Linked DNA regions of Homo sapiens: region 1 is linked to region 2. Evidence: promoter capture Hi-C in human tissues and cell types (Jung and others, 2019). All regions are on one chromosome and are shown on one strand. Each heading gives the region's core, a stretch centred on a gene start or on the middle of the fragment in contact. The rest is flanking DNA. Distances are from core to core; before and after follow the strand shown. Region 1 overlaps NUDT6 (nudix hydrolase 6). Region 2 holds the start of FGF2 (fibroblast growth factor 2).

Evidence for each region. The method cuts DNA at HindIII sites, captures the fragments that hold promoters and counts their contacts. A contact is called where the count stands out against the background at its distance.
Region 1: a contact is called between a fragment that was not itself captured here and the fragment with the promoter of FGF2 in region 2, in 7 of the 25 tissues and cell types used here (adrenal gland, aorta, dorsolateral prefrontal cortex and 4 more).

Annotation. Positions count from the first base shown.
Region 1 is chr4:122,917,196-122,920,127 of GRCh38, reverse strand. It overlaps NUDT6 (nudix hydrolase 6), which reads left to right. Exons shown (of 5, transcript NM_007083.5): 2 at 2,424-2,627. Among named protein-coding and RNA genes, the nearest start is that of NUDT6, 3.9 kb to the left of the region's middle. The HindIII fragment of the contact is 3,529 bases long and covers 1-2,932 here.
Region 2 is chr4:122,825,178-122,828,358 of GRCh38, reverse strand. It overlaps FGF2 (fibroblast growth factor 2), which reads right to left and starts at 1,528. Exons shown (of 3, transcript NM_001361665.2): 1 at 1,007-1,528. The coding sequence starts at 1,184. RefSeq lists enhancers at 1-45, 1-97, 86-225, 98-623, 906-985, silencers at 571-865, 1,206-1,685, cis regulatory regions at 2,185-2,223, 2,224-2,294 and promoters at 1,351-2,318, 1,487-2,669. The HindIII fragment of the contact is 11,104 bases long and covers 1-3,181 here.

The DNA.
Region 1 (2,932 bases), core at 282-2,781, 92 kb before region 2:
TTCTTGGTGGAATAAGAAGTCAACTATTCATATTCTTTTAGAACATGAACTATTGATGTTTTGTTACCAACAACTGAAGTTAGAGGGATAAACAGGCAATATGTTGTTAGCTTCACACATAACATATCTGCATCAGTAATGAAATAGCACTGGTTCTGGTCCCTGCTATGCCACTCACCAGCTATGTGACTTTAGGCAAGCCAGTCATTTCATTAGTACAAATTGAGCCCCAGTGCATAATGTAGGGTTACCCTGGAGGATTGCAAATGCATGGAATATTAAATAGAATTGGAAAAAATAGCTAATGGAAGAGATATCATTAGGTCATATGTAATAAGTTCTAATAAATTGTACAGACATAGTAGTCTTTAAATTCATAATGGTGAGCTCATGAGCAGTGGTTAGGAAAGACTGGTCAAAGATGTGGAATATGAGCTGGACTTTAAAGGATAGATATTAGCAATGGGAATGGGAGGTGAGGGAAGAAAAAGCAATAAAGCTTATTAGGGAAAAGAAGAAAGCAATTTAAAAATGATTCTAAGGTTTCAAGCATTGGTGCCAGAAATAAATAAGCTTATAAATGAAGCTAGTTTGGGGTGTAAGATTCAGTTTTGGCCAGGCGCGGTGGGTCACGCCTATAATCCCAGCACTTTGGGAGGCCGAGGCGGGCAGATCACGAGGTCAAGAGATCAAGACCATCCTGGCCAATATGATGAAACCCCGTCTTTACTAAAAATACAAAACTTAGCTGGGCATGGTGGCACGCACCTGTAATTCCAGCTACTTGGGAGGCTGAGACAGGAGAATCGCTTGAACCTAGGAAGCAGAGGTTGCAGTGAGCCGAGATTGCACCATTGCACTCCATCCTGGTGACAGAGCAAGACTCCGTCTCAACAACAACAACAAAAGATTCAGTTTTGAACACACTTTGTGAAGTCTGAAGTGGTAACCTTCAGGACAGGAAATGTCTGGGAGCAACTGGAGAACAGAAAGTTTAGTGTTCAGTGAGGTCAGGGCTGGGCAGCCATCCTCATGTATGTATCAGCTGAAGCAGTGAGAGTGGATTCTCCAAGACACAGAGTGTAGATATAAAACAGCAAGCAAATAGCATTGCTTTTAGAAAGTAGCCTTTTAATTTGATTGGAAGGATTGCCTGGGAAGGAGCACATGTGAAATGTATGGAGTGATAGAAATGTTCTATAATGTTAAAGTGTGTTACGGGCATATGCATATGTCAAATCGCATGAAATGTACACTTAAGATTTGTACATTTCACTTTATGTACTTTACCTCAATTTTTAAAAGATGTCATCAGACAAAGAGAGCAAGGTGAGAAGGACCTGATCCCATAATTCCACTGCATGCTAACTCAAATCAGGAAGTCTTTATTAAAGGCCCCATGTGCCTGTCACTGTGCTAGGCACAGCAACTTTCAAAGAGGTAGAGAACATTGTCCTTAAAGAGAGGAGCTTCCTGCAGAGCTAGGGAAAAGAGAAGGGAAAGTTAATTAACTATTTGATATATAATCAACCCCCAAAGACAGACACACACACACGCTTTATAGCGTTATTATAAAGATTAAGTGAGATGATGGATGAAGAAAGTGATCTGAAAAGCTTTTCTAAAAACTCTAAATCTGAAGTATTTATTTCTTCACCCATAAACTTAAGGTAGTAATACCTTTCATGGTTGTGCACTTAATGAGATAATATATATAAAGTGCTTGGAACTTAGTAAGTTTCAAATAGATATTAGCATCTTTTTCCCCTGGCTCAATCTTAAGTAGTAAAGAGAATTTAAAGAAGGCAAAGATAGAAAACCTATAATTATGTTCACCATGATATTATCTATAATAAGGAAAAATTAGAATTTTATTCCTATATGCTAGTAAAATGTGAAGTTTGATTTCTTCATATTTTTTATTTTCAAAATTTCTACAACCAGCATACATTATTTAAAAACAAAGTTTAACTACCTTGAAATTTATACATTAAAAACATTATAACAGAACTCCTAAAGGAAGAAAAAAATAGAAGTCCATAATTGTCTTTAAGATTAAACCTAAGGATGTTAAAAGGAACAGCATTCAAATGGTATTTGATTCGGTTTAAATCCTTTTATTTGTCCACTCTAAAACTACAGAACATCTGTTACGTGCCAAGCATTGTCTTTGGTGGTATGGATATAAAGGTCAGCAGTGTAATGACTTTATTCTGAAGGAATTCAGTCTGATGGAAAAATCATATAAACAAGGTGGTTACTATAAAACATGGTACTTCCAGTGCCAGCGATGTGAACAAGACATTTGGGGACCTCTTTTGCTTAAAGATGGTTTCCTGGAGGAGGCGAAACCCTGAGGTGAGTTTTAATTTATTCCACTCGTCTCTTTGGAAATTATTTAGACTTTTTTCTTCTGCATTTAGCTGCAGTACAGCAATGGCGATCAGAAGGTAGAACAGCTGTATGGCTGCACATTCCCATCCTCCAAAGCCGATTTATTGCCCCTGCTGCTTCCCTGGGCTTCTGCTTTCACCACGCAGAATCGGATTCATCAACGTTGACTCTGTGGCTGAGAGAAGGGCCCAGCAGATTACCAGGATATGCTTCACATCAAGTAGGAGTTGCAGGTCAGTTTCAAACTCATGATGAGCAGAATTAACTTTTTAGACGTTCACCCAATTTCTTGCTTGTTACAGCTAAGCAAATAGTTTATTCATGTGGAATGAGTTATTTGATTAAATGATTACGGTGGTTCCACCCTATCTGCACAGGATGTGTTCCAAGACCCCCAGTGGGCACCTGTAACCGCAGATAGTACCAAACCCTATGTATATATACCATGTTTTTTCCTATCACACATATTTATGATAAAGTTTAACTTATAAGTTAGGCACAGTAAGAGATTAACAGTAACTAACAATAAATTAGAACA
Region 2 (3,181 bases), core at 279-2,778:
TCAAATTCCATCAGTGTTGTAAATCGGCTCATCTTATGCCCCTTTCTTTCTCTTTCCTCTAGACCAGTGGCTCTCAAAGTGTGATGTGATCAGCATCCCCGGGGAACATGTTAGAAATGCAAATCTTCAGCCCCCACTCCAGACTTAGGGAATCCCCTAAAGTCCAAGCACTCCTTATTTAGGCCAGTGTTCTTTCTAGAACCACAAACATTGTTTCTTACAGAAAGCAAAACTGCAATTCTCATTTCATCCTCAAGCCTGCTGCAAGGTAGTAATATATTAGCCCCACGTGAGCGATGAGGAAACCGGCTCTGGGGTTAAGCGTCGGCTCAAGGTCTCAAAGCTAGTCACTGCAGGTGGAAGATTAAAGTGTTTGCACTTCTTTTCACTACTGAAACAAAGCTATGGCACTTTATTAACAACATCTGGATTTTTTGCTGGTTGGCTGGTTGGTTTTTGTTTTTGCTCTTTCAGCTTTCGTCAATTCGGAAAAATATAAAACAGAGTGGGTGAGAGTAGTGTGCCATATGCCTCGGGTCGTCCCGAGTCGGAATTTAAGGGCAGGACTCTAGAAAGGTGTTTTTCCAGTAAAGACCGTTTCGTTCTGCTGCGGTCCTTCCTGTCTTTGTCCCCGGGACAGCACGCAGCAGATAGAAGCGGCCAGAGCTGCATGGCGGGGCCGCGGGCATCCCCGACGCGACAGGTTGTCCGCGGGAAGACAGCCAGTCCGCGAGGCCCCGGCGCGCCGCGGCTCCGGGCCGGGGGTACTGGTTTACAGGGCAAATTGGCACACCCCAAAGCCCAGGGGACACCCGGGCCTACGCCGCAGCCCGGAAAGGAGGGGGTGAGTGGTGAACCCGAAACCGCCGAGGGCCGCGCGGCCAGAAACCACACGGAGCGCTAGGGTCGCAGTGAAGATCCGGGAGGAGGGTGCAGGCTGGAGGGGAGAGAGCGGGCGAGAACCCACGAAATGGAAATGAGGCGGAGAGAGCGGGTCGGCACTCACTGTGAGGGTCGCTCTTCTCCCGGACCCCGTCAACTCGGCCGTCGGGGTGGATGCGCAGGAAGAAGCCCCCGTTTTTGCAGTACAGCCGCTTGGGGTCCTTGAAGTGGCCGGGCGGGAAGGCGCCGCTGCCGCCATCCTCGGGCAAGGCGGGCAGCGTGGTGATGCTCCCGGCTGCCATGGTCCCTGCGGGGCCCGGCCGGGATCCCCGAGCCGCTGGAGCCGCGCGGGGAGCCGCCGTCCCCCGGCCCCGGCCCCGGCCTCCGACCCGCTCCGGGGCACGGCCCCGGCCCCGGCCCCCCAGCCTCCCGCCCGGCAGCGCGCGGCCGCGCCCGCGGTCCCCCAGCCTCGAGCCGCTCGGCCGCTCTTCTGTCCGCCGGCCCCTGGTGCGCGGCGAGCCGGCGGCCCGGGACCTGGGGTTCACGGATGGGTGTCTCCGCGGACGCCGCCTGGGGAGAGCCGCCTCCCAAGCTGCAGCGCCCGGGATCCCGTTGCAACCGCGGGCACCGCGTCCGCTAATCTGGCACCCGCCGGGCCGCGGCGTCACATCTTCTACATCTCCACCCCCCACACCCACCAGCCTCCCGCGCCCCCAGTTCTCCTCCCTCCTGCGCGCCGCCCCCTACTCGCTCGGGTTTTCTGGGGCCGGCCTCTGAGTTCGGCGGTTCGGCCACAACACGCAAGCGCGCGACATCAGTCCGGCGGGGAGCCCGGCCTCAGTCGGGGGCGGGGGAGAGGCGAGGGGCGGGGGGCGCGCGTCGGAGGCCGCGGCAGGGCTTTGGCATTCCCTGGGCTCCACCGCCCCTTATCCCCCAAAAGTCACCCCCGCCCAACCCCCGCACCACCCAAACCACGTTTAGGCTTTCTCCACACTGCGGGGCTTTTGCTGCGCAACCAGCCGTGACTCAACTTTTAAAAGTTTAAACTCAACTTTCTCCCCCATTTTTTCCCCGCTAGCGTTTCAAAACGGAGAAGCCGTTTCCACCCCAAAGTAGAGAAGTTGCAATCCAAGGAAGAGTCTGTGTCAGAGCAGGCTTTGAAAATCTCTAAATCACCAAAAGACGAGGGGTACAAGTGGGGCATAAACTTTAAAATTAAAGGACAGAGGCTGAAGTCGTCTACCAACAAAAGGAGAGAAAGAGGCCAGAGAAGGGGAGCAGATTGGGTTGCTAAAACGAAAAGGTTTCCTTTACTGACCTATCTTGAATTAGACGACGCAGAAAGATGAGGATGGGGATAAGGATAAATCCTTATCGCGATCGAAGCGCATTAATGTCTTAACTCGGACCTGGCATTTGCCCTAGCTAAATTGTTATGCATTTCTTGGAGAGAGAGTTATTTTCTGTAAATCCCAAATGTAAAATTGAAGTTAATTGCATTTTGGTAATTTTCAGTAGGATATAGCAGGTGCCACAGATGACTAGGAAAATATCTATTCAGAAAACTTGCATGTATTGAGTACCTACTGTGTGCAACACATAATGTTGAGTGTGTGGGAGATGCCAAATCTGATGCCAGCGTCTCACACACTGAGGGAGATAAGATGGGTAGCATGAGTAACACAAATAGCAGTAGAAAGTAGGCCATAGAAGAGTAAGACTAAGTGCTGTGACATTTCAGACATCGGATAACTCAGCGTGGGGAGGCAGGAGATTTGGGGAAGCTTCTAGAAGGAGTTGCAAGTATGGACGTGCCTCCTTGTAGAAACATTAGGTTTCAAAAGGCCATGCATAAGTGCATTTGTTCTTAAGTCTCCAAGAAGGCTTTAACTCCAGATGCATTTCTAGAATGTTACATACAGGAGAATGAGTAAATTCTTTGAAGCTTTAAAACCAGGCATACTGTTTTTATTTTTATTATTTATTTATTTTTTTTAGACAGAGTTTTGCTCTTGTTGCCCAGGCTGGAGATCAATGGCACGATCTCGGCTCACCGCAACCTCCACCTCCTGGGTTCAAGCGATTCTCCTACTTCAGCCTACCGAATAGCTGGGATTACAGGCATGCGCCACCACCACGCAGGGCTAATTTTTTGTATTTTTAGTAGAGACGGGGTTTCTCCATGTTGGTCAGGCTGGTCTCGAACTCCCAACCTCAGGTGATCTGCCCGCCTCAGCCTCCCATAGTACTGGGATTACAGGCGTGAGCCACCGCGCCAGGCCCAAAACCAGGCATATTC